3 separate regions of the Homo sapiens genome follow, and regions 1 and 3 are each linked to region 2. Evidence: promoter capture Hi-C in human tissues and cell types (Jung and others, 2019). All regions are on one chromosome and are shown on one strand. The core of a region is centred on a gene start or on the middle of the fragment in contact, and the rest is flanking DNA. Distances in the headings are between cores, read along the strand shown.

The links. The method cuts DNA at HindIII sites, captures the fragments that hold promoters and counts their contacts. A contact is called where the count stands out against the background at its distance.
Region 1: a fragment that was not itself captured here is called in contact with the fragment with the promoter of PDCL in region 2 in 1 of the 25 tissues and cell types used here (lymphoblastoid cells).
Region 3: a contact is called between a fragment that was not itself captured here and the fragment with the promoter of PDCL in region 2, in 1 of the 25 tissues and cell types used here (hippocampus).

What each region holds. Positions count from the first base shown.
Region 1 is chr9:122,283,829-122,287,715 of GRCh38, forward strand. It overlaps MRRF (mitochondrial ribosome recycling factor), which reads left to right. Exons shown (of 7, transcript NM_138777.5): 4 at 1,341-1,459. Among named protein-coding and RNA genes, the nearest start is that of MRRF, 21 kb to the left of the region's middle. The HindIII fragment of the contact is 3,862 bases long and covers 582-3,887 here.
Region 2 is chr9:122,827,094-122,830,707 of GRCh38, forward strand. PDCL (phosducin like) reads right to left here and starts at 1,495. Exons shown (of 4, transcript NM_005388.5): 1 at 1,378-1,495. RefSeq lists an enhancer at 1,397-1,691. The HindIII fragment of the contact is 7,303 bases long and covers 1-3,614 here.
Region 3 is chr9:122,233,245-122,236,981 of GRCh38, forward strand. No RefSeq gene overlaps it. Among named protein-coding and RNA genes, the nearest start is that of LHX6, 6.2 kb to the left of the region's middle. The HindIII fragment of the contact is 6,020 bases long and covers 1-3,737 here.

The DNA of each region.
Region 1 (3,887 bases), core at 1,263-3,762, 540 kb before region 2:
AATAATGCCTCTTTTCCATCTGTAACTGTGGCTTTATTGCTTGCCTTCTTGCCATTTTTGAAAATTTTTCCCAGGGTTTTCCAGAATTTAGATGCAGATAAAGATTATATCCAGGATAATAGGAAAATGTTAATAGTTTTGTTGTTGTTGTTGTTGTTGTTGTTGTTGTTGTTGTTTGTTTAATGGGCTAGTTCTAAAGGGGATCTAAGTACCAAAATGAAGGGTCGTATAAGCAAATGGTTCCAAATCTGGCTGTGTCAGAATAATGTGGTGAACCTAAAAAAAAAATTACAAGCTTCCCCAAATCACAGGCTCCGAAGCCTCTGCAGAATCAGGATCTCTCCAGGGTGGGGCCCAGGAATCTAATTTTCAAAGCTCCCTGGTGATTCTGATGCACAGCCGGATTTGAGTTCCATTTGTAAGGGAAAGAGCCTTGACTGAAATCAGAATTAAGCACACCTGAGTTTGGGTCTTGGCTCTTGTTTTTCCTCTTGTTACCCCTATGATCTTGGCCTGTTTATTCTTCCCAAGTCTTATTTCCTCATCTGTAAAGTGGGGGTAATAATGCAGTGTTACAGGGTTGTTGTAAGGACTAAAAGGGATAGTAAGAGGTACAGTCCTCACTCTAATCCTCTAAGGTAGTTATTTTTTGACTGAATTGGAAACCAAGGCACAGAGAAGATAAATAACTCACCTGAGGTTTCATAGCAAGTAAATGACAGAGTTGCTTGTGAGGGTGATCAGCTGTTTCCAGTTTTAGTTCTAAAAGCCCTGTCACAGAAAATTCTTCAGCTCCAGGCAAACCAGGATGGTTGGCCACCCTAGTTGCTGGTGATGAATTCCAACTTAGTTCTGTCAACATTTCAAGCTTTTCTATCACGATACTGCTGTTCCTGTGAAAGCCCCTTGTACACTCTTGTCACATTGATAAGAATCCCTAAATGTTTGTTGAATCTGAATTATTATTATTATTTTGAGACAAGATCTCACTCTGTTGCCTAGGGTGGAGTGCAGTGGCCAGTACGGCTCACTGTAACCTCTACCTCTTGGGTTTGAGCAATCCTCCCACCTCAGCCTCATTGCTGAGTAGCTCATCTTCCAGGCACATGCCACCATACCTGCTAATTAAAAAAAAATGTTTTTGTAGAGATGTGGTCTTGCTGTTTTGCGCAGGTTGGTCTCAAACTACTGCCCTCAAGCATTCCTCCCACTTCACTCCCAAAGCTCTGGGATAACAGGCATGAGCCACTGCATCCAACCTGAATCTGAATTAGATAGGACTTAGATTTGGGGCTACTAAGGTTCTTTGGAATTCTAAAACTCTGTAATTTTTCTTTTAGGATCCCTTGACAAGATTGCTGTGGTAACTGCTGACGGGAAGCTTGCTTTAAACCAGATTAGCCAGATCTCCATGAAGTCGCCACAGCTGATTTTGGTGAATATGGCCAGCTTCCCAGAGGTAAGATGGCCTTGCTAAAATCTCTCTCCGTGGTCTCTTTTGGAATGGAGGAGACTGGGTCATATCAGGAGGAAGTGTTCCTTCAGCTTAGGATGAAACAAGAGAGAAGACATAATAAAGAGAACTTAAGGATAAGGCAAAGCTCTTTTCCTGTTGCCAGATTCCTTTTCTGTTAAACTCAGATGCTACAGAGGCTAGGTAAGTTGTTTGAATACCCAAACGGGTCCCATCTAAGAAAAACAATACTGGAGATGCAGTGATTGGTGCTTGGCCAGCGTGAAAAGGCTCTGGTGAGCTGGAGAGCCTGTACCTTGTGTGAGTGGAATGCCTCTGCCCAGCTCCTGCTGATCATTGCCAGGCACAATGTAGGCCTGGTAATCAGTGTTACCTGATACTACGATTTTTATTTCCAGAAGAAGCTAGTAACACAAATTTTTATGTGACATCTTTATTCTGTAAATGTTGATGACTAATTGAGTTTTTTTTTTAAAGACTATGAAGCAAATAAAACAATACTTTAATGGGCCAAATGTGGCCTGAGGGCCACCAATTTGTGACCTCTGCATTAGTATTTGGAGCAGACCCTCCAGGAAGTCCTTTTATACTAGACTGACCATTGCAGAATATTGCATGGAGCACAGTGCTTCCAAAACTGGAAGGTGGGTTGTATTAGGTCATTGCATCTTTGAAGCTTTATGATTTTAAGTGTAGTTGAAGAAGGTAATTGGGCTTTTTGTTATTGGTCCACTAGGAATTGGCCTGGATTAGGAGTCTTAGAGTACCTGGAATCCGGTCCCATCTCTACCACCAACTGGCTGTTTGACCTTGGGCAAGTTGCTTCACTCTCTGGGCCTCCATTTCCTCATCTGCTAATATAAGGTGAAGGAATCCTCCTGTTCTTATTGTCTATTTCAGTAGTTGTATTCCAAAGTCATAGACCAAGGTTGGACCTGTTGTATTTGACAAACTAGGCTAGAGATAGGAGAAAGGGAAAGCCCTTGCTGTGAACACACTGTTTCAAATCAAAGGGCTCTGATAGCTAATGGGCCAGGCACACCTGTGGGTGTGCTGTTACCACTCCCCTACTCCATTCTCCATACTATAACCAGAATGAGTTTTTGAAAAATATATATTGTGCCAGGCGTGGTGGCTCATGCCTGTAATCCCAGCACTTTGGGAGGTTAAGGTTAGAGGATCACTTGAAGCCAGGAGTTCAAGACCAGCCAGGGCAACATAGTGAAACCCTGGCTCTACAAAAATTTCAAAAATAAAAAAATTAGTGAGGTGTGATGGCACACACCTGTAGTGCTAGCTACTCAGGAAACTGCAGTGGAAGGACCGCTTGAGTCCGGGAGTTTGAAGCTGCAGTGAGCTATGATCATGCCACTGCACTGCAGCCTGGGTGACAGAGCAAGACCTTGTATCTTAAATAAACAAGGAAAAAAAAATATATGTATAAAAGATTTTGTCAGTTGTCATTCCCATGCTTTGCCTTTATTGGTGGCTTCTAGCAATCTTTAAGAAACAGTCCAAAATCCTCACTGTGGCCAAGAAACAGTCCAAAATCTTCATTATGGCCTAGATGGCTTTGCTTGATCTTGCCTCTGTTTTTTCAGTTTTGCCAGTCTTGTGCCACTGTCATCCTTGTACAATGCTTTAGCCACATTGGTCTTTCAGTTCCTCAAACACACCAAACCCTTTGCATCCTTAGAGCCTTTGCATATCCTGTTCCCATTGCATGGAACACTGTTGCATGGCTAATTGCTACTTATATTTTGGATCATGGCTTAAACGTCACTTTCTTAAGGAAGCCTTTCCTGACCTCTCCAATCTAAATTATTCTTCCACACTAAGTTCTCCTATACAGCACAATTCTTTTTCTTTATTGCACTTATTACTAGTGTACATTTGTGTACACATTTATTTTTCATCTCACTTTTACTAGAGTGTAAGCTTGGAATGTAGGAATGTCTAATTTGCTCATTGTGTCCAACACCAAACAGTGCCTGGCACATGGCACCATTTGGTAAATTTTCCTTGAATGGATGAATACCTGTTATTAGGTTGATAAAAGGGAGGCACTCATTTCTGATGTTAGTGAGGAACAGAGAAATTGATGAAAAGGGAACTGTCAACTGTTTCTCTTTCTGGGCCCCTCTGAACCACTGAGGCCTCTCCTCCTTGTTCATCTAATCCCGTAGGCACTGTGGGCCAATTTAGGGAATAGCCTCCTAATTACACAGCTTGAAGACCTCATCAGGCAGATTGCTTTTCAGAGCCAGCCACTTCTTTTATTAAATAGCAAATGGCATTCACAGAAGAAGCACCTGATTGGCCACCAGAGCATCTTATGAAGCAGGAGGAGATATTAACAGCTTAATTTTTTCTTAGGAAGTTGGGGTATATCTTCATTTTTCAACTCAGACAT
Region 2 (3,614 bases), core at 245-2,744:
ATTACTCTAGTCTGAGTTAAGTGTACAAGCCACCTGCACTGGCTTGGAGGAATCTACTGACTAGTGGTTTTATCTGTGCTTTTAGTTTTCCCACCAGCTAAGACTGCTGCCTAATTGAAAAATTGTTTAAGTATCCTCAGGAAAAACCCCAAAAAGAGGCATCAAGAGTACAATGCTGAGTCACTATTTGTCTAGGCAATCACTCTCTGTCACCAGCCTTCAACTTCCCAGACAACACCCTGAGGGCTTGGATGGATGGTCTCTGAAACGCTACCTATTCTGACAGTTTAAAAGAAGGGCCCATACAAAGATTTTAATAACTCCCAAGGGTTTAAAGGACTATGATGGCCGGGCTCGCGCAGGTAATCCCAGCACTTAGGGAGGCCGAGGAGGGAGGATCACTTGAGACCAGGTATTCGAGACCAGCCTGGCTAACATGGCGAAACTCTTGTCTCTACTAGTAAAAGCAAACAAACAAACAAACAAAAATTAGCCAGGTGTGGTGGCGGGTGTCTGTTTTCCCAGCTACTCAGGAGGCTGAGGCACGAGAATCTCTTGAATCCGGGAGGCGGAGGTTGCAGTGAGCCAAGATCACGCCACTGCACTCCAGCCTGGGAGACAGAGCGAGACTCTGTTTCAAAAAAAAATAAAAACTAAAAATATAAAGGACCAGGCTTCTGCATCAGAAGTAGCCAAGGGCATTCTGATGAAAAGATGCAGCTTAGCCCCCAGAGGCCTGCTTGAGAATTCAGCAGGAATGCGGCTGCCTTAAAGACTTATCACCGGGCCTATCATACTCCATTTACAAAGTGACTCTCTCCCACCGGGCAAGGAGTTCTTGAACGTAGGGACCTCTAGTCACTACCTCTATCCCCAAAGCCCAGCACAATGCCGCTGCACAATTTGCTAAACTCGCAGCCTGGGTCAACGGGAGAATCGGAGGACTCCAGCAGTCAGATGCAAAGGAGACAGGGATCATGGAGAGACAGGTGGAGGTGCCAAGAAGGAACAAAACCAAACTTAAGGCCCAGGAATGGGCCAAGCGGGGGACACAGCAGCGGCGGAGGGGAGGGAAGGAGTTGCGCTCCTAAAGGAGGGACCGCTGCGGGGAGGAGACGAGGGCGGGCCCCCTGGAGACGCGAGCAGAGGAGGCGGGGCCCCCGGACGGGAAGCAGAGGGGTGTGTGGAGCTTTTGGGGGAAGGCTGGAAGGGCCCGGGGGAGGTGGGGCCAGAGGAGGAAAGGGGACGAGGAAGACGCGGAGAACTTGGGGGTCGAGACAGAGCGAAGAAGGGGCAGTTTTACCCAAGCTCGCCAACCCCACTCCCTCCCGTAGTCCGCAGCTGCTGCCGCTTCCCGGTGGACCCCAATGCAGTTACCTGCCCTAGCTCGCTCCGGATCCCTTTGGGCCAGCAGCTCCGGGCGCCGGAAGGAATGGAGCACTTTCTTAAGAGGAAGAGCAGTGGGTCAGCGCCCTGAGCGCTAAAGAGAAAAGCCGCCGAAGCCCGACAGCGCGGACCAATGAGGCGGCCTTCCTGCGTCGTGGCGGACGCGCATTGTCCAATCAGAAGCCGCTACTCCCAGCTGAGGGGCAGGGGAGAAGCTACGGGTCCTACCTTGGAACAAAACACCTCGACAACAACGCTCTCCTAATTGCTTTGTTTTGGTTTTAATCTGCACAACAAAAAAGTGAATTGTATGACCCAGCGTCAAGCAATAAGAAAAATGTATTCACAGGCCGGGCGCGGTGGCTCACGCCTGTAATGCCAGCACTTTAGGAGGCCGAGGCGGGCGGATCACTTAAGGTCATGAGTTCAAGACCAGCCTGGCCAACACGTTGAAAACCCGTCTCTACTAAAAATACAGAAATTAGCCGGGCCTGGTGGCCGACGCCTGTAATCCAAGCTACTCGGGAGGCTGAGGCAGGAGAATCGCTTAAACCCAGGAGGCAGAAGTTGAAGTGGGCCGAGATCGCGCCACTGCACCCCAGCCTGGGCGACAGAGCGAGACTGTCTCAAAAAAAAAGAAAGAAAGAAAAGAAAAATGTATTCACTTCCCTTCGAAGTTTCCGAAGCCATTCAAAGTGTGTTTTTTATTGGTTCTTCATCGCATCACGTCTATTAGACGGAAAAGTGACTCAGAGACGTTCGGTAATTTGCCCGAGAGCACAAATCCCTCAAGTACAGGGCATAGATTAAAATATATATATATATTTTTTTGACGGAGTTTCGCTCTTCTTGCCCAGGCTGGAGTGCAGTGACGCGATCTCGGCTCACTGCAACCTCCGCCTCCCGGGTTCAAGAGATTCTCCTGCCTCAGCCTCCAGAGTAGCTGGGATTACAGGCGTCCGCCAGCAGACCCGGCTAATTTTTTCTATTTTTAGTAGAGACGGGGTTTCACCATTTTAAAGAAGCGGCAGCCAGGAGTGGTGGCGCGCGCCTGTAGTCCCAGCTACGCAGGAGGCTGAGGCGGGAGGATCGCTCAGCCCAGGACTTGGAGGCCAGCCTGGGTGACAGAGCAGGAATGTAATGTGAAATCCGGAATTGGCTCCTGGTATAGAAAAAGGACATGGGGCCGGGTGCGGTGGTTCACTCCTGTAATCCCAGCACTTTGGGAGGCCGAGGCGGGCAGATCACCTGAGGTCAGGAGTTCGAGACCAGCCTGGCCAACATGGCGAAACCCCGTCTTTACTAAAAATACAAAAATTAGCCGGGCATGGTGGTGCACACTTGTAATCCCAGCTACTCGGAGGCTGAGGCAGGAGAATCGCTTGAACCCGGGAGGCGGAGGTTGCAGACAGCTGAGATCGCACCACTGCACTCCAGCTTGGGGGTCAAGACTGAGACTCCGTCTCAAAAAAGAAAAATAAAAAGGACATGAATGGGACAACTGACGAAATTTGAATAAGGCCTATTAATTCATATTAGTAGTATTGTATCAATAGTTTTAATAATTATACTATGTAAGATGTGAACTTTTGGAGATTCTATTAGATGAAGAATCTAGGGAAGCACTATCCTATTTTTGCAACTTTGTTTTCTTCTTCCAGGGTAAAGCCATACTATGATATTTTGCAACTTTTTTTTCTTTTTCCTCAGGCATACTTTGTCGTCTGTTTTTGCAACTTTTTTAAAACCTAAAATGATTTCAAATTCTGAGCCCTTGTTGAAGTATCCAATACACAACCGTGAAGTTGCTCATAGAAAGCTTTGGGTAAATTGAATCATAGAAAATATTCTAGAAAGATACACTGTTTAAAATAGGGCTCTTAATTTGGGGTAGGGGATCTTAATTTGTGGTTCTAGGACCACCTGAAATTGTCTGCAAATTTCTGTACCTGCCTGTTTTCAGAGAGGCTGTTTGCTGAGGCCCTCAGAGGAGTCAAAAAATACCACACACAAACACACACCCATTCAAGAATACTGTATTAATAAGTCCGTTTTCATACTGCTGTAAATAAATAACCCAGTGTCAGGCAGTTCATACTGCTATAAAGAACTGCCCGACACTGGTTTATTTATTTATTTATTTATTTAAGACGGAGTCTTACTCTGTTGCCAAGGCTGGAGTGCAGTGGCGCAATTCTCGGCTCACTGCAATCTCCGCCTCCCAGGTT
Region 3 (3,737 bases), core at 1,236-3,735, 590 kb before region 2:
AGGTATTTCCTGTTTGAGGAAAGAGCACAGAATGGGGTACAAACTGTATGACCCTAGGCCGGCAATTTACCTCTCCTGGCCTCAGTGTCCTTGTTTGCAAAATGCGCGTGTGAATCAGCGATGTGGAAGTGACGGAGCGAGCCTGGGCGTAAGATAGACCACCAACCCAGCCCAGCCACTTCCTGGCACGCTGAACTTGGAAAAGTCACTTATCTGAAACACATTTTTCTTAATATCAATATCTGGGAACAATATCAATCTCAGAGGAGTCAATAAGATAATCAGTGTGAAAGGGATTTGAGAAGCACAAAACTCCGGGGCCAGATGGCCTTAATGTCAACCTTGTCACTTCCCTTTATTACTTGGGTAATCCTGGAAAAGTTCTTCAGTCACTCATCAGCCTCAGTTTCCTCATCTGTTAAGTGAGGATAACCGAGTTCAACTCCTATGGTTGTGAAAATTACGCAAATGATCCATGTGACAGGACTCAGAAATATGCCTGGCACACAGTAGTCAATCAATAAACATTAGCCGTCATTGTGGCACGGGCTCTCTGAATTTTCTGTTTGTTATTCTACTAGGTACCACATCAAATTCTTTATGAAGGCAGGGGACAAATCAAAGCTTCAAAGTATATGGCAAAGCAATATTGCATACCTCAAAGCATATTGCAAATGTGAACAATTATAGTTACTGGAAGTCCCCTTCCAGGAAGCTCTGACATTCGCTAAGTAAGTTCAGGTCAGCAGACATTTGTGAAGCATTTACTCCATACCAGGTTCCACACTAGGCCCAGGAAATAGAGGAAGCTGTCCTTGTCCCTGCCCTTGAGGAGCCCACAGTCTCTTAAGAGAGAAGAAAGCCAGCAACTCAGTGCAGTGTGACAGGTGCTACAAAGGGTGCTATAGAAGCAAGGAGGAGGGTCACTTAACCTGGCTTATGGGTGGTGGATCAGGAAGGCTTCCTAGAGGAGGTGACGTTTCAGATAAGTCCTGAAGGATGAGTAAGTACAGACAGGCAAGAGCAGAAAGGAGTTGGACCAGGATAAAGAGTGGCGGCCCAGTTAGTGTTTGCTGGGGCAACAAAGGGAGATGAGGCTAGGGAAGTAGACAGGAGCCAGATTGTGGGGAGCTGAGTGTTGACGAGGTTAGATTCATCTTGGAAGCTGGAGTCTACAAGCCTACAGTGACACAGGAAGCAGCATCCTGCAGGAGTTGCACAGCACAGTGGTTAAGGATTCCGGGGTTGGAGCCAGGTGGCCTATATTGATAACCTGACCCTGTTACACACTGGTTGGGGGGCCGAAGGCAAGTCACAAACTCTATGAGCCTTAGTTCCCTCAACCGTAAAATGGGGATTAATAGATAACCCATTGACAAGTGCTGTGATGATACCAGGAGACCATGATGCATCTACGAGTTAAGTTCTTGGCCACCAAGAGACATTGTTATCACTGTTACCACTAAGAAGATGAGGTAATGGTCACACAGAAGGCACTAGCTAAGTGGGGATCCTCAAGGTGCTAGATGTTCCCTCCTCAGAGAATTCTACCCTGACCACATGATTGAAAATAAATCTCCCGTATTAATCTTTTTCCAGCAGAGGGTAGATACAGCTTACACATAGCCTCACAAATAGTCTTCTATAGAATGCCAAGGAATTTCAACTTCAAAATAGGAACTATGAGGGGCTTGTCAGCATGGAGATGACATGGTGAAGTTGGAGATTTGGAAAGATGACTTAAGTAGTTGGTTTGAAGATAGATTTGAAGGGGTAAGTACTTAATTGATTGCAGCAATACTGAACGTTTATTAACTAGTAATCTAAGGGAGAAGGAATGAGGCAGCTGCAGGAACAAGGAGGATGAACAGAAATAAAATAATTAAAAGTTTATTATTTTACTTTATTATGTTGTATATCATCATATACATATCTACAACACATCCAGTTTTCTAATCATCTTTTTTTTTTTTTTCCTTGAGGCAGAGTCTCGTTCTGTCGCCCAGGCTGGAGTGCAGTAGCACCATCTCGGCTCACTGCAACCTCTACCTCCTGGGTTCAAGTGATTCTTATGCCTCAGCCTCCTGAGTAGCTGGATTACTGGCACGTGCCTCCATGTCCAGCTAATTTTTTGCTTTTGCTTTTGTTTATTTGAGACAGAGTTTTGCTCTTCTCGCCCAGGCTGGAGTGCAATGGCGTAATCTCGGCTCACCGCAACTTCCACCTCCTGGGTTCAAGCGATTCTCCTGCCTCAGCCTCCCAAGTAGCTGGGATTGCAGGCATGTGCCACCACGCCCAGCTAATTTTGTATTTTTAGTAGAGATGGGGTTTCTCCATGTTGGTCAGGCTGGTCTCCAACTCCTGACCTCAGGTGATTCGCCTGCCTTGGCCTCCCAAAGTGCTGAGATTACAGGCATGAGCCACCGTGCCCAGCCAATTTTTTGTATTTTTAGTAGAGACGTGGTTTCACTATTTTGCCAGGCTGGTCTCAAACTCCTGGCGTGAAGTGATCTGCCTGCCTTGGCCAAAGTGCTGGGATTACAGGCGTGAGCCACCACGTCTAACCAACTTTACATATTAAGGTTATATATAGAATCATATATATGTAGTATATATGGTATAAATACATACAAATGTATCATATATGATATCATCAGCTATATAACATTTAGGAGACTGGATATAGGGAGTGGGGGAGTGGAAAATGTTCAAGATAACTCTCAGGTTTCTAATAGTTTATTTTATTTTTCCCAGTGACACAGAACATGGGAGCAATTGAGGAAGGGCAAGAGGGATCCATGAGCTCGGTTTTGAGTCAATGTACCAAGGGAATATTCAAGTGGAAGTGCCCAGGAGTGAACGGGACATATGGCTCTGCAGCTCAGAAGAGAGCCTGGATCTAAGAGAAGGAATTTCAGAGATATCAGGGTAGGGATAGCAGCGGAAGCCTTGGAAGTGGAGATTTTACAGCAGCTGGAATTTACCCCATCTATGAGAAGAGAGTTGGCTTGTTTGCTTTCTGGGAGGTAATTTGCCCCTGAAACTCATCTTACTTTTGGTGAGAATCGTTTTTTAAATTATAAAGCACATTATATGTAGTGATAAGTGCTAAAACAGACCCAGGTCGTTAAGACGCAGAAAGGCAATTAACTGCCTTATAGGAATGAGCATGGGTGGGAAAATATCTGTTAGACAAGTGGTGGGGGTGGGCAGAAGGGACTTCCCAGGTAGAAGGCACATCTTGTACAAGGACAGGGGAATCCAGGAGAGTCCATCATGTTTAGGGTGCACAAATAGTTTAGTCTGGTTAGGAGAATGCCTAGTGGGACTGATTTGTAGAAGGCCTCATAAACCTGGCTTATCCTATGGTTCTAGGTATTTGGAAGTATCTTAACTCCTTACTTAGATTAAATCTTAATATCTCTCACTTTGGGGCTTTGTTCTTTGTTCAACGTCCCCCTTAAACCGTTTACGCAGCTTATTAAACATCGTTTGGCCGCTCAGCTCGGGGGGAAATCACCTATGTCACCATGTCCCATTCCCAGCCTGGTTCCCATCCTCTGGTGTCTTGAAGCTGCTGAGTCGTCCCTTTATCACGGTACATCACAGTGCACAGGGCTCCTGCCTCATCATCTTTACACCCTCCACGCATCACACATGGCAAATGCCATCTGTTTCAGGAATGAGTAACCTTCCTTCTGATGAGGTCGCCCACCAGAAAGCTTCTCAAATGGGAT